Linked DNA regions of Homo sapiens: regions 2, 3 and 4 are each linked to region 1. The links are contacts of gene promoters, found by promoter capture Hi-C in blood cells and fetal thymus (Javierre and others, 2016). All regions are on one chromosome and are shown on one strand. The core of a region is centred on a gene start or on the middle of the fragment in contact, and the rest is flanking DNA. Distances in the headings are between cores, read along the strand shown. Region 1 holds the start of KCNJ13 (potassium inwardly rectifying channel subfamily J member 13). Region 2 overlaps INPP5D (inositol polyphosphate-5-phosphatase D). Region 3 overlaps ATG16L1 (autophagy related 16 like 1). Region 4 has its middle 13 kb from the start of ATG16L1.

Evidence for each region. The method cuts DNA at HindIII sites, captures the fragments that hold promoters and counts their contacts. A CHiCAGO score of 5 or more calls a contact.
Region 2: a contact is called between a fragment that was not itself captured here and the fragment with the promoter of KCNJ13 in region 1, in 4 of 17 cell types (naive B cells, total CD8 T cells, total B cells and 1 more). The highest score is 6.5, in naive B cells.
Region 3: a contact is called between a fragment that was not itself captured here and the fragment with the promoter of KCNJ13 in region 1, in 5 of 17 cell types (M2 macrophages, monocytes, M0 macrophages and 2 more). The highest score is 10.9, in M2 macrophages.
Region 4: a contact is called between a fragment that was not itself captured here and the fragment with the promoter of KCNJ13 in region 1, in 6 of 17 cell types (endothelial precursors, total B cells, naive CD4 T cells and 3 more). The highest score is 6.3, in endothelial precursors.

What each region holds. Positions count from the first base shown.
Region 1 is chr2:232,772,892-232,778,266 of GRCh38, reverse strand. KCNJ13 (potassium inwardly rectifying channel subfamily J member 13) reads left to right here and starts at 1,702. Exons shown (of 3, transcript NM_002242.4): 1 at 1,702-1,822. All of the region lies in intron 8 of GIGYF2 (GRB10 interacting GYF protein 2), which reads right to left. The HindIII fragment of the contact is 5,243 bases long and covers 1-3,487 here.
Region 2 is chr2:233,171,962-233,176,937 of GRCh38, reverse strand. All of the region lies in intron 17 of INPP5D (inositol polyphosphate-5-phosphatase D), which reads right to left. Among named protein-coding and RNA genes, the nearest start is that of ATG16L1, 77 kb to the left of the region's middle. The HindIII fragment of the contact is 1,925 bases long and covers 1,435-3,359 here.
Region 3 is chr2:233,276,458-233,281,532 of GRCh38, reverse strand. ATG16L1 (autophagy related 16 like 1) reads right to left here. Exons shown (of 18, transcript NM_030803.7): 10 at 3,860-3,965; 11 at 358-428. Among named protein-coding and RNA genes, the nearest start is that of ATG16L1, 27 kb to the right of the region's middle. The HindIII fragment of the contact is 474 bases long and covers 3,407-3,880 here.
Region 4 is chr2:233,235,691-233,240,926 of GRCh38, reverse strand. No RefSeq gene overlaps it. Among named protein-coding and RNA genes, the nearest start is that of ATG16L1, 13 kb to the left of the region's middle. The HindIII fragment of the contact is 1,046 bases long and covers 2,747-3,792 here.

The DNA.
Region 1 (5,375 bases), core at 453-2,952:
ACTGTCTTGCCTACTATAATATGTATTCTCAGGCCAGGTGAAGTGGCTCATGCCTGTAATCCCAGGAATTTGGGAGGCTGAATTGAGAGGACAGCTTGAGCCCAGGAGTTCAAGACCAGCCTAGACAACACAGCAAGACCCTGCCTCTACAAAAAATAAAAAATTAGCCAGATGTGGTGGCATTACTGCAGGGGGTGGGGGATGAGGTGGGAGGATCACTTGAGCCTGGGAGGTCGAGGCTGCAGTGAGCTGTGATCACACCACTGCACTCCAGCCTGGGTGACACAGCAAGACTCTATGTCTAAAAAAAATGAAAATAAAAAATATACAATGTATATTCAAAACACATGACAGATACACTCAAGTGCTTCTGCTTTCTAGAAGCAGTATTATACTATACTTGTTCTAGTATTTTGTTGTTGTGTTGTTCTGTTTTTCTGCAATTTGTTAGCTGGGAATTGATACACATTATAATTCCTACCAGTACATGCAGGGAATGAGCATCACACCACAAATCCTTCTTTATACTTTACCTTCCCTAGTTCTGAAGGTCAGTGTTTCTAATGCTGTGTCTGAACTTGTGTTGAAGTATTTGGTACTAATAAAACAAAGAAGGAATTAATATATTTTTTAAATTGTGGGGCGGGGGGGGGACGGAGAGGATTCTACAAAGGCGGATTTCACTTTCTAAGTAGCATTATATTGGTCTACATTAATAATTTTCCCAGCAGGCCTTCCAAGATTTTACTTTGAACAATCACAGTCTTTGTTTCTCAGATCCTCTTACATGTGACATTTGGTCAAAGTTTTAAAATCAGCAGCTAACGGAGGAGGAGAAAAGTACTGTTCACTAAGGCACTGCACAAAGCCATACCACAGCACGTTTCAGGGTTCCAACAAGCTGGATCACATTTTCCAGCTAAACACTATTTCAATGTTGTGTTACATTTTCTGTACACTGTACACTATGTTTTATTAACACTATACTTCATCACACTGATCAGGAAAACATCTTCTAAACATCATTAAAATAAGCCTTAAGAAAATTCTTCGGTTCTTTCCCACAGGTGTGCATTTTTTAAAGTATCAGGTACAGAACAATTAATTTTATTCCTATTCAAGGTCTTTGTATACAGCCTTTAAAAAAAAAAAGTTTGTTTCCTAACCAAAAAAATAAAAGATTTCACGTAATTATCTATATTACTAGTTCTGGAACTAATGGTAGCCATTCTGATGAGACATGAGAAGAAAACTAAGAAAATCAATGCATTAATTTATGCCTATAAGTCCTTATCCAAATAAATCTTCCCCAAAGACATGGTGGAAAAAAAAAAAGATTAGTAAAGGAAATATCTCACACTTCAACATGCTATATAAGGAAAGACGGCTGAAAAATCTTGCAGGGAATTTTATCCCTTTGAACTTTCAAAAAAACTCTTAAGTAAGATTATGCAAACTTACTAAAGACCGGTCCTGATTAGAGGGAAAAAATGCACCCCTTCTCCAAGTCAGTTCTGGAGGCTTTCTCCAGAGTTGTTAAGGTTTGTGTTGGGTAAAGAAAGACCTCCTAACAAACCAGCATTCTTTTCCACATGATCAGAGCTAATTGGCCCCCCTGCAGGCTAAGTGACCAATCACATCAACCTCAGCTGAAACCAGCCCCCACAACATTATAAACAGAGGAATGTAAGCTGTAAAACCAGTCCAAGAAGAGAACCTACAAACTAGACTTGTAGATTAAAATTATCTGATCAAAAAGGCAGACTCTGTAAATTTCCTTAAGACCTACCTTGGCATAAAGGCTGACCCAGCAAAAGAACTGGTGAGTACATGCAATAATATCCATTCTTCTTTCCTTATGGGAAACAGGGAAAGAAACTGACTGGCAAATAGCAACAGAGCTAGATTACTTCCAACAGATTTTTAAAACAAAGACATTATCTATAGTGTAGGATAGTAAGGTTTCTATATTCTTTTCCCTTAAATCTTAAAAATGCAATAACAGCCATATTGAATGTATTACTGGAAATTTTCTTAACTGTTTTATTAAATGTATACTAATTTTCTATTACAATATATCAGTAGAGGATAAAGGCCTTAGGAAAAAAAATTCAGTGGCTTGAGGAAAAAAAAAGTCTTTTTCTTTTGGAAGGAATTTCAAAAACCCAAAATGAGCATAAAAAAACAAATGCCAAAAGAATAAGCCACTTTGTTTTTACTTCTGTAATCTAAGAAGAAAGTGATGAGTATCCTAATCGTAAATTTTTAAGCATGGAATTATTGCGGAAATTAATAGATACTTCTGCAACTGAGAAATTAAAATAGAATCTCTGAGCTTATATAACAGGGTTAGAACTCAATAGTGTTTGCCCTAATTGTGGAGGGCAGGAGAAATCATTATAAGACTTTCAATATAGTCTTAAAGTATTTACACCAGACATGAACAAATACATAGTAATGCCATCTTCATTTAATGTTTGTTAGTTATAGCCTTTATCTTAACTCCTCAGTATGAACTATACTATTTTTTATCATGGCAACAGAAAATACATACTTTTAAGTGCTACAACCCAATGAGTAGAATGAATTCTGATGATCAGTGAAGCTGCCTATCATTTTTTAATAGGTACTATTTTTCCTCCAAATAATTTATAAATGGGCAAATATTTTACAGCCCACACACAGCAATAGAAGCAAACCTTCCCAACCTTCCACCTCACTTTCTATTGGGATCAGCTGATGAGACTTAAATATCAGGTAACAATAGTATAATTTTTTAAACCATACGAGCAGACATCAAACTATACAGAAATAAAAGAAATCATATAGGAAACTTGTATCCTTTGTAGGAAGTGGAAATATGTTTGTTTACATAAGTCTGTAGAGCTTTAAGAAATCTTATTATCATAATTCCCTCTTTTTTCACTTTCTTTGTTTTAATCTAAGGATGCCAGGCCAATGGGATTGAGTGGTTTGCCCAAAATGACACAGCTATGTAACCAACAGTGCTAGAGCCTGAAGGCCATATCCCCTTATCCTGCGTTCTCTACACTAAACCACACTGACTATAAGAGTCCACAGAATAGTTATTCAGGGTAATTGGTTAAGTGGGAATCAGAAATCAATCTTCCTTCTCTATATTACTCCACTTGCCAACACAATCCAAACCAAATCCAGCAGTCTTAGGTTAAAAAAAAAAAAATGCTGCTTAACTGTTCCGATTATCAGCCTTTTGACTTCCCTGTTCACAGGTTTTTCCATGTATTTAGTTGCAAGAGAAAAAAAATACAATTGTAAAGAGCCTAGAGTAAGAGTGCTACAAAAGTTGTAGGTAAGAAGTAACAACAGTCCTGAAAAAGCCCAAATGAGAATGATGAATTTTGTTAGCTACAGTCTATACAGAAAGGCTCTAAGTAAGGAATTTTAGAACTTTCATAAAATAGGTTGAAAATACAAAAGAATCATGGAGTTTTTTCTTTCTCAAGCTTTTGTGAAACACTAAGCACTTAGCAGCATTCAGTAGGACAGTGGCTCCAAATGTGGAACAAGCACTAGTGTCCAGGAGCATGAGGGGCATTTTCACATAGGCAGGAAGCAACAACAGTGGAGAATGACAAAGTTGTTCACCCACCATTTTGAAGGCAACCAACTATCCTTTCATTGTTATATCCTTCTTCCATGTGTCAAAATCTTTTATTATGTCATCATAATTTTATTTATAATGACAGTATTATACTTGTAAAATTGTCTTCTCATCTGGCAAAACAGAAACTTGGCAATGTTATGTCATAACTCTCCTCTCTACATTGCTTTAATTTTACTGATGTGCAAAACACAACTGGACTATCTAATAATTCAGACTGTGATAATCTTCAAGTCTTGAAAGAAGTCTTTCCTAACTGAATATCTGTTTCTAACCTACAAATAATAGGTCTGAACCCAATAAACATTACTGAAGAACAAACACTCTGGAGCGGCTCTTGAACAAAACTAATCAAATGAAACTGTATTATTCACAAAGGCTAAGCAGGGTCAAACATCTGTTTTGGAGGCAATATGGCACTAACTCTGGACTCAGAATGTATAATATTCATATCCACCACTTACTACCTCATTATACCTCATTTTCTTTCTTTTTTTTTTTTCTTTTAGAGACAGGGTCTCGCTATGTTGGCCAGATCGGTCTTGAATTCCCGACCTCAAGCAATCCTCCCGACTCAACGTCCCAAAGTGCTAGTGTTACAGGCATGAGTCACCATGCCTGGTTCCTCACTTTCGTTATCTGTAAAATGGGACTAATAGTGATACTTATTACTGTGAAACTTAAGACACCTTTTTTTTTTTTTTTTTTTTTTTAAATAGAGACAAAGTCTCACTACGTTGCCTAGGCTGGTCTCTAACTCCTGGACTCAAGCAATCCTCCTGTCTCGGCCTCCCGAAGTGCTGGGAGCCAGACACGTTTTTAATAACAATAAAGCAACTAATACTTTACTGAGAGCTTACTCTGTGCCACTGGCTTCACATCAGTTTGTACATATGAAGTATTTGGTATGATTCCTGGCACATGCTAAACAATATATATATTAGCTAATATTATTAATCATTACTATCTAAAGAATCATGAACAAAGTTAACAATGGTTTAATACAGATACTTGAGACAGTTTCAGGGGCAAGAAAGGCATCTACTAAAGGTGCTAGAAATTTGGCTATCAAAGACCTTCTTGAGAATGCAATATCAATCATTTTTGGAAAGACTGTTATTTCACCAAACGCTTCCTGTATTAAAAAAAAAAATTAACTGGCTTTGAAGTTAGCTAGACTTGAATAACCATCCAAATAATCCAAAGCTCCTATTTGCCTTGTGTAAATTTCTTTTATCTGTCTGAGCACCAGTGACTTCATCTGAAAATGGGAACAATGGCTATCTTGTTGAGATACTGAAGAATTAAGAGATAATACAGTATGAAAGCAGTTATCACAGTGCCTATGAAGATTTTGTTGTTTCCAAAGCGTAGAGATCAGGTCTCCTAAAACATTTAAAAATAATCTAACAAAATAAGGGTCATTAAGTAGCTATGCCAAGAAAAAAGAATACACTAAATGATTATGACAACTTGTTAGGGTAATAAGTTATAAAACATTAAAATAATGCACTAAGATTTTTTAAAGTCTATATCATATGAAACTGAAATCGCCATCTAACCTAAATAAACTGAACAATCATCCCAGTGTTCCATTAGCTCAAATCTGAAGAAAATACAAAAAAAAGTCTCTAATCACCAATAAATGTTAAGTTACCTCAGAGCAAAAGAAAGTTGTATATACCCAGGTGGCCAATATCCAATTCCAACAACACAGAAAGGCAGTCTCCAA
Region 2 (4,976 bases), core at 1,148-3,647, 400 kb before region 1:
CTCTGCTCACTTTCTGCAGTCACTTACTTTAATAACACACTTCAGCTTCCACCCCCAGTTCTATTCATCCATCTGTCCACCTTTTCATCTCCCCATCTACCCATCTTTACTCATTCACCCATCCATCCATCCACCTACCCACCTATTCATTCATCCATCCACCCATCCACTTATCTACCTATTCATTCATCTATCCATCCACCCATCCATCCAACTACCTGTCCATTTCATCCATCCACCCATCCACCTATTCATCCACTCATCCATCCACCCACCCACCCATCCATCCACCCACCGACTAGCCATCCATCCATCCACCCATCCACCTATCATCATTTATCATCCTCCACCAACCCACACATCATCAATCCATTATCATCCTCACACCACACATCATCATCATCATCATCATCATCCACACTACCACCATATGGCTATCATCCATTCACCCATTCACCCACCTATCCACCCATCCATCCACCTATCCACCCATCCATCCATCCATCCATTCACCCACCCACACATCCATCTATCTATCCATCCATCCATCCACCCACCCACCCACCTATCCATTCGCCTATCCATCCATCCATCCATCCATCCATCCATCCATCCATCCATCGCACCCATCCACTCATCCATTGACCGTTCACACACCCGTCTACCTACTTATCCAATCACTCAAACAGTATCTATTAATACTATATGACAAGCCCTCTCCAGGGCCTCAGGCTGCAATGATGAGCAAGATGTCCATTAGGTGGGATAGACAAGGTAAACTGGCAATAACAACCCTCTTTTATCAATATCCTTATCCCCTCATGTTCTAGCTCTTTCTTCTCTGTCTACAAACATAAAGGAACTCATCCTGAAAGAGCTTATCTCTGTCATCTCCTTCAATTACTTTTCTCTTTTCTTCCTTTTACCAATTTTCTTTCAAGAATGTTCTATTTTCAGGCTGGGCATGGTGGCTCATGCCTGTAATCCCAGCACTTTGGGAGGCCAAGGCGGGTGGATCACCTGAGGTCGGGAGTTCGAGACCACCCTGACCAACATGGCGAAACCCCATCTCTGCTAAAAATACAAAATTACCCGGGCATGGTGGCGCATGCCTGTAATCCCAGCTACTCAGGAGGCTGAGGCAGGAGAATCGCTTGAACCCAGAAGGTGGAGGTTGTGGTGTGCTGAGATTGCGCCACTGCACTCCAGCCTGGGCAATAAGAGCAAAACTCCATCTCAAAAAAAAAAAAACAAAAGTTTTTATTTTCATTCTCTCTACTTCTGAACCATTCACTTTTTAAAAAAAACTTTAGGTACAACTTACATAAAGTGTACTAACCATAAGTGTACAGTCCCATGCATTTTTAGGTTTGTATAAACCCACTTACCCACTACCCAGAGCAAGATACAGAAAACCGCCATCATCCTAAAGCTTCCCTCATAAGCCTTCCTTGTCAATACCAGAGCCTCCTAAAGGTGAGCATTAGTGTGACTAACATCTCCATTGATTAATTTATATGAACGTATATAAATGGACTCACTCAGTAGATACTCTTTTATGTTGGACTCCTTCAGCCACTTCGTTGCTTATAAAAGTTCCATTGTTTATAAGTATCACATTTATCTACTCTACTGTTAATGGACATAGGGTTGTTTTCAGTTTTGAAGATTACAAACAAGGCTGCCATAAACATTCATTTTTTTTTTTTTTTTTTTTTTTGAGATGGAGTCTCGCCCTGTTGCTGAGGTTGGAGTGCAGTGGCATGGTCTCGGCTCACCACCATCTCCACCTCCCAGGTTCCAGTGATTCTCCTGCCTCAGCCTCCCGAGTAGCTGGGATTACAGGCGCCCATCAGCATGCCCGGCTAATTTTGTATAGAGACGGGTTTCGCGGTGTTGGCCAGACTGGTCTGGAACTCCTGACTTCAGGTGATTCACCTGCTTTGGCCTCCCAAAGCTCTGGGATTATAGGCGTGAGCCACCATGCCCGGCTAAACATTCTTATACCTATTTTTGGTGAACAAATATACAAATTTCTCTTGAACACACACCAAAGCGGAATTACTGAATCATAGAATAGGTGCATTTTTAGTTTTCATTGATTCTGCCTAACAGTTAGTTAAGTCCTTTTTTTTTTTTTTTTTTTGAGACAGGGTCTCACTCTGTTGCCCAGGCTGGAGTGCAGTGGGGCAATCTCAGCTCACTGCAACCTCTGTCTGCCGGATTCAAACAATTCTCCTGACTCAGCCTTCTGAGTAGCTGGGATCACAGGAGTGCGCCACCACACCTGGCTAATTTTTGTATTTTCAGTAGAGATGGGGTTTCGCCATGTTGGCCAGGCTGGTCTCAAACTCCTGGCCTCAAATGATTTACCTGCCTCAGCTCCCAAAGTGTTGGGAATACAGGCATGAGCCACTGTGCCCAGCCTAAACAGTTACTTCTTAACATTGCAGTTCTCGGCATCAGCTGCCTCTGAGAATTACCCGTGGGGCTCCACAAATAGTCATGTACCACAGTAATGGACTGCATATAGGACAGAGGTCCTACAAAATTATAATGGAGCTGGAAAATCCCCATCACGTAGTGCTGCTGTAGCTGTCATCACGTCACAGCGCAACACATTACTCACATGCTTCTGGGGATGCTGGTGCAAACCAGCCCACTGCACTGCCAGCTGTGTAAAAGCATAACAGTACAATTCTGTTCAGTACATAATATTTGATAATGATAAACAACTGTCACTCATTTCCGTGTTTACGATATTATTTATCATTAGAGTGTATTCCTACTTATAAGAAAATGTTAACTATAAAATAGCCTCAGGCAGGTCCTTCAGGAGGTAACCAGAAGAAGACATTGTCATCATAGGAGACGACAGCTCCATGTTATTGCCCCGAGGACCTTCCATGGGATGAGATGTGGAGGTGGGTGATAATGTCATTGACCATCCTGAGCCTGTTTCAGCCTAGGCTAATGTGTGCATTTATGGTTTTTGTTTTTGTTTTTTTTTTTGAGACGGAGCCTTGCTCCAGGCAGGAGTGCAGTGGCGCCATCTCGGTTCGCTGCAACCTCTGCTTCCAGGTTTCAAGCGATTCTCCTGTCTCAGTCTCCCAAGTAGCTGGGATTACAGGTGCACACCACTACGCCTAGCTAATTTTTGTATTTTTAGTAGAGACAAGAGTTTTGCCATGTTGGCCAGGCTGGTCTCGACCTCTTGACCTCAGGTGACTCACCCACCTCGGTCTCCCAAAATGCTGGGATTACAGGCATAAGCCACGGTGCCCAGCCTACGTCTTAATTTTCAACAAAAAAGTCAATGTAAATGAGAGTTTTGAAATTTTAAAACTTGAAAAAAAGCTTATAGATTAAGAATATAAAGAAATAAAATATTTCTGTACAGCTGTACAATGTGTTTGTATTTTAAGCTACATTTTATTACAAAAGCGTCAAAAATTAAATTGTTTATAAATAAAAAGCTTATAAATAAAAAATTACAGTAAGCTAAGGTTAGTTTATTATTGGAAAAAGAAAATTTAAAAAATAAATGTAGGGTAGCCTAAGTGTACAGTGTTTGTAAGGTCTACAGCAGTGCATAGTAATGTCCTAGGCCTTCGCACTCATTCACCACTCACTCACTGACTCACCCAGAGCAACTTCCAAGCCTGCAAGCTTCATTCATGGTAAGTGCCCTATACAGGTGTACCACCTTCTTTTTTTTTTTTTTTTTTTGAGACACAGTCTTGCTCTGTCACCCAGGCTGGCATGCAATGGCGCGATCTCGGCTCACTGCAACTTCCATCTCCCGGGTTCAAGCGATTCTCTTGCCTCAGCCTCCCGAGTAGCTGGGGTTACAGGCGTGTACCGCCATGCATGGCTAATTTTTGTATTTTTAGTAGAGACAAGGTTTCACCGTGTTGGCCAGGCTGGCCTTGAACTCCTAACCTCAAGTGATCCACCCACCTCGGCCTCCCAAAGTGCTGGGATTATAGGCATGAGCCGCTGCCCCCAGCCCATTTTTTTCTTTTTATACCATATTTTTACTGTACCTTTTTAATGTTTAGATACACAAAAACTTATTGTGTTACAGTTGCCCACAGTATTCAGTAAAGTAACATGCTATACGGGTTTGTAGCCTAGGATCAATAGGCCACACCATCTAACTGAAGTGGGCTTTGTGTATACACACTTCATGAGGTTCCCACAATGACGAAGTCACCTAATGACACGCTTCTCGGAACATATCCCCGTTGTTAAGCGACGCATCGCTATTTTCAGCTGCCTTCTGGGTATTTTCTCTGGGTTCTTCCACTGATGTCACACAATCAGTAAGTCTGAAAACAAGTTCTATTTTTTTCCCCTTCAAGCCAGCTCCGCCTTGTGATTTTCCAGTTTTTATCAATGGCAATCAGGTCTCGCAATATATCCTGATTTCCCCCTTTCTTTCATTTTCACTGTTTTTTCCCTGATTCGGCCCTAGCTGTTGCTCAGCTGAATGTGCACAACGGCCTCCTCACCGATGCCCCTGCCGCGTCCTCATCCTTTACCACAATGCCCACCACAATTCTGCACATGCCACTCTGATGCACCAGTGCCCGGCAGAGCTTGCAGTGGCCCCCTGTGGCCTGTCATCCTGGCATCTAGGACCGGCCACTCTCCCATCTCAGGCCCTCCTCTGCCTCAACTTAAACTCACATCAAAGCAAACCATCCTTCACCAGCCTGCACAGGGATCCCCAAGGACCTGCTCTGACAGTGCCTTTGGGCCAGGTGACCTTATCCACACAGCAGGCAGTGGACCCTGCGGAATGGGGTGTCCCATCCTGGGGGTCCCAGCCTCGTGGGTGACAGCAGTCCGGGATCTCCTCCTGTCCTCTCAGTTGTATTCTCTTCCTCTCCTGCTCTGTTCTAAAATCCACCCAGCGCTTGGCCTTCCTCTCCCACGTCCAGTTCTTCACTTTCTCCTGAGCCCAGATGGGG
Region 3 (5,075 bases), core at 2,394-4,893, 500 kb before region 1:
ACGCTTTGCAGTTTAATGCTTTCCCATCACTCTCATTTAGATGGCGAATCTCGGAGGGTAGAGACCACGCTGGCCCCTGGAGTACAGCATCTATACACTCAAAATACAACTATTAAGTGAAATTATACAAAGTACTGAGTAACATCACAAGCCTAATGCATGAAGCAGAACCCAAGGGTTTATCAGAGTTGATACAGCAATTAACCCTATAATCTATTTCCATCTTTCTTTAACATGGATTTGGCTTAAGATACAGAGAATGGCAGAGAAATCGGGTAAGTTATGTTATAATTTCAAGAACCTAATGTCTTAAATTATTTCTAAAAACCTTTAAAATCATAGCTATTCAATACTTACAGCACTATCAAATTCAATGCTTGTAATTCCTGCATTACTGCCAGATAGGGAACCCTTGAACTCACATTTTTCTGTATAAAAAGAAAAAATTAGGATGATGGGAAGTTAAATAAAGCCAATAAATACATTAAAACAGGGCACTGAAATACAATGGAAGCCAATTACACTGCTAAAACAATAGCTATCCTGTACCTTTACAGAATCAAACAAAATAGCAGGACAAAGAGAACATGAGAGATAAAAGATACTGCTAGTTTCTAAGAGGAATGCAAGTCTAAGTGGACACTGACCCCAGCATCTTGGATGTGTGTTCTGTTCTTTAAGAAATGTAGTTATTCATTCTCTTTAGAAAAACAAAGTGTAGGAATTTATAAACCATGTCAATCAAACTAGAGACTGGGTTTATTCAGTTCCACTATTTCTCAGTACATTTTAAAAACTTACATACATAAATATTTGGGTTGATCAGCATTTGTGCCAACTTAACTACCACTTTTGTAGAAACTGGCAGTCAATTTCTGGACCCATGGTGTGGTAATTTTCATTAAGGTGTGAAAAGAAATTGTGTTAGTTACATTTAAATGACTACTCATATAGAATACCAGTCAAGCTAGTTTGGAGTTTCTGGAATTTGCCCTCATACTTTATCTCCATGAATCTAAGATCCTGGCAAGCGAACTAAGTGCCAGCACCTCCCATCCCTCTACACAGCTCTCCCTCACCAACAGAGCCACTGTCCACTTTATCTACTCTGCTTCCAGACAGCCTGGCCACCCACACGGAAATTTCAGTAACGGGCAATCCCAAACTGAGAAGAGCAAAAATCTCAATGATTTGATTAAATTCCTTTTAAAAGGGTAACTTAAGGATGATCCACACAGATAAGCTAGAAATTAAGGAACCATTGTAATCATATTTGTAAAAGAGGAACACAGAACAGAAAACATTTCAACACATTTTTATCTTATTCAGTACTTCTAAGTAGTAAAAATAATGATTGGAGCCAGATATCAAGGTGACACGAATACTGGTTTGAAGCTGTCATGTACATTCAGGCCACAGACTGTTAACCTGGTTGATGAACCTCTCCTCTGAACTCACTTGCAAAATACAGCATATTTAATGGCTTTTTCTGGATCCTAGCTTTCTTAAGATTTTCAAAAGGGTTGAAAAAGGCTAATATTCGCTAAGATTTTCCTTTAGATGAAATCTTCACAGATAAAAATATTACTGCAAATTCTAAGAAATATCTCTTTGGCTTATGCTTAAAATACTGGTCTATTTGCTTGGCACTTAACACAGTGCCGAAATGTAGGAAGTGACCAAAAAATTAATGCTATTCAATATGAGAGATTGATCTCAAAAGAACAAAGACCGTATTAAAACTCTTAATTATCTACAAGATACGGGGTTGGGGGCGGGGGGTGCTATGTCAACAGCATTTGTATAATTCCCAGTGGAACTTCTGCTTTGGAGAAAATGAGCAAAAACAGATGTTCCCACTGGGTAGAAAGTGTGATTCTTCTGATAATCTAAAAGGATGAAAAAACAGGACCCCCAAACTATTTCAGAAAAGGTCTCTTGAACTTGGCCTCTTCCAAGATTCAGTAAATAAATATTTGCCAAGACGAAAAATCTTGTAGACTGAAACAGCTGTTTGTAGAAGAAAGGCCCTACACAAAACTGTAAGAAATGCCGCCACACATTCTGCTATTTCTGTAGATTAGGTAGAAACTTGATTTTATTAACACAAATTATGTGCTGGCACAGATTATGTCAGTATTAACTTCAACTGATGTTCGTTTCTTTTCAGCCGCAAAAAGGTTACTAGAATTAAAGGTTGGTACCTCTAATTTTCTTATAGGTGTTTTTACTGACCAAGGAGTAAAACGAAAATATTTCTAGTGTTATTTTTATTTAAATCTCAATGGCATACTCAAAACAGACTGTTTACTTTGATTTTGCAAATCAAATTCCCTAAAATTTCCTTTTTTAAAAGACACAGGGTCTTGCTCTGCTGCCCATGCTGGAGTGCAGTGATGCGATCAGAGCTCACAGCAGCCTCTCACTCCTGGGCTCAATTGATCTTCCCACTTCAGCTTCCCAGGAAGCTGGGACTGCAAGTGCATGCCAACACACCCAGCTACTTTTTAATATTTTTTTTGTAGAGGCAGGGTCTCATTTTGTTGCCCAGGCTGGTCTTGAACTCCTGGCCTCAAGCAATCCTCTTGCCCCAGCCTCACAAAGTGAAAATTTCTTATGATTTGTTTTTATTATTGTTTTCTAATTGCTTCAGCCATTATCATTCATAAGCTAAATGTTTCTGGGCAAAATAGTAAATTTTAGTATGCTTCAATGGGCTCTAACTGCTGAGTCCCTTTCCTGAAAATCAAAGGCCGGGGCAGATAGGAGGGGTGCTTTACTAATAACCTATTCTAATAAGTTGCTCCTGCTCTGATAAACCTTAAAAGCAGTACCCCTAAGATTTTTCAGTTGCTAGAGAAGGCTACAGTAAGAGCATGGAATTTCAGGTCTTCTGGCCTGCATTAGTCCTAGTTCCACCACTCCCTCACCACAGAAATCATTCACTAGCCATGTAAATCACGTAGTATCTGAGTTTTATTCCCTTTATCTGTGAAATGGCGCAATCTCTACCATTCTAACCACACAGGGCTGTTGTGATGATCAGGGGAATTAACAGACAAAATCACTTTGGAGCTATTTATTGCTCGACAGGGATAATGTGTGTGTCGCAGCTACAGACACTTGGCAAAGTGGTTCCCGTTAAAAACCTTAAGCCTTATTCTTCGGCCTTACTTTAGTAAAAATACACGCATATTTAACTGAATCTCGAAAACGTCAAAACTGGGAAATGCCCGGCTTCAGACTTCTAAGAGATGGTTTCATTAACTTCCATTTTCTGTTTTAATGCCATCCATCTCTGAGCATCCTAAAAGTCCAAAGAGACTGAGTCTTGATCTAAGGGCCCTCGTCTGATACACTGTTAAATACATCTTTTCTAGGTAGTACGCCTCTGTTTCCTCAAGCTTAGACATGACTCCAGTCATTTTTTCCCTAGGCTATTGCAATTGTCATTAAATGCATCAACCACAGCTTAATGTATAGTTTAATTGTAGAATCCATGATCATAAGACTTATTTTCCTCATAAAAACGGTACTATTTTGCAAGATGCTCTGATTGGTATATACTTGAGAAAAACTACAGAAACCTTACTAACATAAACATATCCATAACTTAACAGTATTTTCTGATCACTACTTAGAAAATGAGAGCAAACATCCACTCGGAAGTAAAGAATAACTGAGATGTATGATGCTTTGGTCAAACGATCCCTTACATAAAATGTATGTTTTGAGAAAATGAACAATTCACAGTGCCTGAAAGCAAGGTCAACCAGATGCCAGCAACACAGCTTCTTTCTGCAGTGCAAGGGTGCATCATCTCAAGTTTTCAGTCTGAGAACATGCAGCAGGCTCTCACCTCCAAATACTTCCCAAAGCTTAACCCTGCGGTCCATGCCTCCAGTGGCCAGTAACCGGGAACCTGGACTGAACTGCACAGCGTTGACTTCCCCATCATGTGCATCCTGCAAGACAAGCACCCTGTGTCAAACCCAGTCATTCTCATCCCAAGAGCTCAAGATGCGCGAACACTCCAAATGCCTAATTCATGGGGAAACACTCATCCTTAAAGACAGGTGGAGCCAATCATAAACTAAACTGGACTCCTAGCCCAGGTCAACTAAGATTCTATTATCATTTTATTCTTCTAGTTACAGTTGCATTAGAGTGCAGTGCAACCTTCTCAAAAAGTACTCAAAATCTGTGTAGACTGCTTAAAGTTGGTCCTTGCATTAATTTCATCTGTTCTAACAATAATGGCCTATATTTATCTTAATAGTTTAAAAGTAAACCTAGAATTAATTTTGGTCCAGACTGAGTTAATACTACTTATTGATCTACTAGTAATTACTAATTTACTAATAATATTAAATACTACATATTTAAATAATGTATAGCACATGGCCTCTCATAATACAGCTTTCGCAATGAGTCCTAATATAAGTAGATGGCAAAAACATCAATCTGTGTTATAATGGAATTCTATGTAGTTCTTTCTGGAAACATTATGGGACTAGTGTGTACTGGCAGTGTGACCTCTGCCAAGTTTCTGAAATCTCAGTTTGCTCAGCTCCAGAAAGGTTTTTGCAACCCAGAATGGTGCCTGTTAATGCATAAGCCTTAGATAAAAATGACAGTCGTTATTTTAAGAGAATTTATATTCTTCACAGGGAAATTTCTAATACTGGCATAAACACTGGCAAAAGATGGTACTTATGTTCAGGATAAGAAAGAAAACCAAGTAAAAAAGCATCCTGGCTGGGTGCAGTGGCACACATCTGTGATCCCAGCACTTCGGGAGACCGAGGTGGGCAGATCGCATGAGCTCAGGAGTTCAAGACCAGCCTGGGCAACGTGGCGAAACCTCGTCTCTTAAAAACTAAAAAACAAAAATTAGCCAGGTGTGGTAGCGCATACCTATTGTTCCAGCTACTCAAGAGGCTGAGGTGGGAGGATTGCTTCAGCCCAAGGTTGAGACTGCACTGAGCTGAGATTGTGCTACTGTACTCCCGCCTGGATAACAGAGTGAGACTCAGCATCCCATTCTAGAATGGGAAAAGGGAATAATCGAAAAA
Region 4 (5,236 bases), core at 2,020-4,519, 460 kb before region 1:
TTAAAAGTTACCATCTTTTAAGCTTAAGGTAAACTCATCCTCTCACTCAAGCAAGAATTAAATTAAGTTACAATCTGCAGATTTGCGAACCTGAGCATCAGTGGATAATTATAATGATAATTTACAGTGGGGATTAGAGGGACAAGCAGCCTTAAGTCAGCATCTTGTGTCAGCAGTATTTACTCCTTGACATTTTAAACCAGGGATCAGCGAAATATGGCCCGCAGGCCAAATTCAGACAGCCATCTACTGTACAGCCCTCTGTGCATAGGAGAGCTAAGGGGTGGCTGAGGTGGGATCATTTGAGCCCAGGAGCTTGAGGCTGCAGTGAGTTGTGATAACACCACTGCACTCCAGCCTGAGTGATATATATATCTATATATATATAGATACATATCTATCTATATATATATGATATATCTCTATATATATCATACATATCTATATATCTATATATATCATATATATGCACATATATATCACTCATATATATGTACACACATATATATTACTCATATATATCATATATGTATGTGTGTATATATATGAGTGATATATATGTATATATATACACACACATATATGTATGTATGTGTATATATGTATACACATACACACACATATATATAGAGAGAGAGAGACGTGGTCTTGGCTTATTTCAGATAACAGAGAGTCCCAAAGTAGGGTGGGCTTCAGGGTTGGCTGTGGATGGGCTACACTGTGGCATCCAGGGCCCTGGGTCTTTCCACCTGTCTGCTCTGCCCTTCTTAGGGATGGTGTCATCCTCAGGCTGATGGAAAATGCCCAGGGCAGCTCCAGAAAACTTATTCAAATCCGAGCATGACCTGAGGAAGAAGACTCTCTCTTAGGAATGTGAAAACTTCCCCAGAAGCCCAGCAGACATCCCCCTTATATCTCATTGACCAAAACAGGGTCACATGCTCATTCTTGGCAAGGGGAAGGCATCACCTTTAGACCCATCTTGTTCACCCTCAGGCTGGAGGGTGAGGCTGGCTGCCCCAGAGGCCTGTGGCTGAGTGGGAAAGGGGTATCCATGGTAGTTCCTCTCCAAAGCTCCCCTTACTCCCAGTCTGCCACACCATGCCTCCTGGTAATCCCTGGACTGAGTCTGGGCTGCTTCTATGTAACTAATAAAATGCGGAGGAAGCGTCTTTGCACAAGGTTCAAAACTGGGTTACAAGAAGCCTTGCAGCTCCTTCTCAGTCTCTTGGAATGCTTGCTCTGTGATAAACCAGCCAGCATCTACAGAGCCCGACTGCAGGGAGGCCACCATGCTGTGAGGAAGCCCAAGATAGTCATGTGGAGAGGCTGTGTGGAGAGCCAGCAAGTGAGTGAGAGAGAGAGAGAGAGCAAGAAGAGAGAGAAAGACACACACACACACACACACACACACACACACACACACACGACACGGGATGGGGGGAGGGAGAGAAAGAGAGAGAGTTACCGAGATACCGAGATACTGAGCCAGTTTCCACTGTTCTGGACTCGTGAATGAAGAGGCCACCCGGGATGTCCAGCTCAGTGGAGGCTTCTGATGACCCCAGCCCCAGCTGCCATCTGACTGCAACCACATGAGAAACCCCAAGCAAGAACCACCCTTCTGAGCCCAGTCAGCCACGGAATTGTGAGACAGGATAATGAATTGTTGTTTTCAGTTTTGGGGATGGTTCGTGATGCAGCAATAGATAACCAGAATAATATCTAAAGGAAACTGGGTCTCTCTCAGGAAGGAAGAAGCAGGAAATGGCTGCTGGGTAGGCTATCAATGGTGTGTCCCCTTTACCCTGTTGGGAGTGTGCACAGAACACCACGTTATCCTCAGAAGACATCTGATGAGCGTAGAGCCAAAGCAAGGCAAATGTCTGCAGGTGGGATCACTTTACATTGTCACAGTGGGATCCATTTTCCCCACCATATGAAGGAAACTAGTTATTGTCAGAAGAGACCATTGGGATGAAAAGTGTGTATCTTCGAAACCACTAAAGAAAAACTCACACTTTGGGAGGCCGAGGCGGGTGGATCATGAGGTCAGGAGATCAAGACCATCCTGGCTAACAAGGTGAAACCCTGTCTCTACTAAAAATACAAAAAATTAGCCGGGCGCGGTGGCGGGCGCCTGTAGTCCCAGCTACTCGGGAGGCTGAGGCAGGAGAATGGCGTGAACCCGGGAAGCGAAGCTTGCAGTGAGCCGAGATTGCACCACTGCAGTCCGCAGTCCGGCCTGGGCGACAGAGCGAGACTCCGTCTCAAAAAAAAAAAAAAGAAAAAAAGAAAGAAAAACTCAGTCTGTACCTTCTATAATAATAATTAGTAATGCCAGTAACAGCAGGTAACATTTATTGAATGTATACAGTGTGTGAGGCTAAATGCTTTACAATTGTTCTCTTCTCAGTTTTCACAACAGCATAGTCGTGTTGGTGCTATTGCTGGCTCTACTTCACAAAGACAATGTAGCCTGGGTTCTGGGTTCAAATTCTGATGCTAGCACTTATCACCTCTGATATCTTAGGCAAGTTGCTTAAACTCTGTGCCCCAGGATTAAATGAATTAATACTGACAACGGTGTCTTGCACACAGTAAGTGCTTTATAGGTATGGCCATTATTATTATTTCAGAGGAAGAAAGTGAGGCTCAGGGAGACAGGTAACTTGTCCAGGTGCACATGATGGGTAAGAGGTAGGCAGATTCCAACCCAGCCTGTGGACTCCATAGCCTGCAAGCTTACCAATCTGTGCCTTCCTTCTCCTGCCTCATAAAAAAGAGCCTGTGTGTTGACCTTGAACTTGTATCTCTCAGATCTCCTGCTGGGGGAAATACAATCACCTGACAGCCCTTGATGCTGTGCTCTAAATCCACCACCACATTCAAGCTGTGTCCACATTTCTTACCACTGCTCCCAACCAATGACGAAGCACAGCAGGGCTGCTAAGGCAGAATGACTCCTGTGACACGTGGGACTCCTCTGATGAACTTTGCCTCAAGGATGCTGCTATGGACCGAATGTTTGTGCCCCTGCCCCAAATTCATATCTTGAAGCCATAATCCCCAGTGTGATGGTATTTGGAAGTGGGACCTTTGGGAGGTGCTTAGGTCACAAGGGAAGAGCCCCCATGAATGGGATCAGCACCCATTCATGAGGTGAGGACCTTATAAAAGAGGCCCCAGAGAGCTGCCTTGCTCCTCCTACCATGTGAGGACACAGTGAGAAGTCTACTATCTGCAAACCAGGAAGAAGGTTCTCACCAGATACTGGATCTGCCAGCACCTTGACCTTGGACTTCCCAGGCTCCAGAACTGTGGAAAATACATTTCTGTTGTTTATAAGCCACCCAGTATATGGTATCTTATTATAGTAGACTGAACTGACTTAGACAGATGTCTATCAACCCTGCCCAAACTTTGTTAGAATGTGCGGCAGGCTGAGAGTCTTCCTACCTCACCTTCCTTCCCTCTCTCCTTCACCAGGGTCAGACCTGCATCATGGCCTGACAGCTCTCCCAGCCTCCTCCTGTAATCTCCCCATCTTCCTGCACAGACACTTCCTTCAATAAATCTCTCATGTCTAACCCTGCCCTAGAACGTACTTCTCTGAGAACCAGAGAGGTTTGGATGAAACCCAAGTAATAGAAGAAAGTGGGAATGAAAGGAGCTGCCACCAACACTGCTGTTGATGTTTTGGAGGTCCTGACCCTTGCCAAGTCCACTTGTCTTTCTCTCTAATCAAGTCATGTGCCTGGGTGGCTGTGTTTCTATCCCATGACTGAAGCTTTCCGGCCAAGAACTTTTTGGACCAGCCGTGGACACCTAACTGGGCCTAAATCCTCTCTTAAGGGAGAGTGAGGAGCCGGGCCTCTGGGTCTGGAGCAGTCAAGGGCTGAGTCAGCACCATGGCAAGACAAAGCCAAGGAGAACCAGGAATAGGCAGAGGACGCTGGGCAGAGAAAGAAACAGGTGAGCAGAAGGAAACGTCCAGAGAGGACCAGGGCCCAGAGAAGAGCCACCCTCTGCCTGACAACCTTGTTCCCAGCTCCATGTGGCTGAGGCCTGGCTAGCTAGACTCTTCATCAGTGCTCCTTTTTTTTTTTTTTTTTTTTTTTTTTTGAGGCAGAGTCTTGCTCTGTCGCCCAGGCTGGAATGCAATGGCACGATCTTGGCTCACCACAACCTCCGCCTTCCAGGGTCAAGTGATTCTCCTGCCTCGGCCTCCCGAGTAGCTGGGATTACAGGCATGTGCCACCACACCTGGCTAATTTTTATATTTTTAGTAGAGACAGGGTTTCACCATGTTGGCCAGGCTGGTCTCAAACTCCTGACCTCAAGTGATTCACCCGCCTCAGCCTCTCAAAATGCTGGGATTACAGCGTGAGCCACTCTGCCTGGCTGAGCTCTCCTTAGGGTTAGGTTACTCTGTCTCTGCTTGGAGCTAGTTTCTCTTCCCCATAAGCAGAAAGCCTTGACTGAAATGGAAATTTAGAATTTTAGAGCAGGAAGACCCCTTAGACATCATTTTATGGCAAAGACGCAAAAGCAGGACATTTCCACCCTCTCCTGCTGCCTTTACCAAGATCTGAGGACGGGAACTCCTGTGTGTCCTGGGAAGAGGCCCGAGAGCTGCTCCCCGAGTCCTAGGTGGGAGCGGGAGAAGGGCCCCTAGCAGGAGGAGGGCGGCCTTGCAGAGCCCTTCTCGGGTCCTGGTGGATGACACTGCAGTGTGAGGGATCCGCCCACCCTCTCTGCCACCCCTGGCGGTGGCCTCTCATGCCACAGCTGGGAGGGCAGGTCTCCTGCATCCAGGCCTAGGATGGAATCTTCTCCAATCCTCCCAACAATCTTGCCTCCCCATGGGATGTGATTTCACAGCTTCTCCAAGGTTGATGGGTGGGAATTTGCTTTACCTTTGGGTAACTAGAAAGCCCGTTTCTGTTAACTTTCCCAGAGTAAATAAAGTCAGCTCCAAAGAGGCCACCTCCAGAAACGGAAAGCTATTAGCAACCTTCTAAGCAGCTTTCCCGCTAAAAATTAAAAAGGAAAAACCTAAATCCCATTTGGGGTGAGCCCTTGTTTTACAGGTAGAAGTTATTATTTTTTTATTTTTCATTTTTATTTATTTATCTATTTATGAGACAGAGTCTCGCTCTGTTGCCTAGGCTGGAATGCAGTGGTGCGATCTCGGCTCACTGCAACCCCCATCTCCTGGGTTCAGGCAATTCTC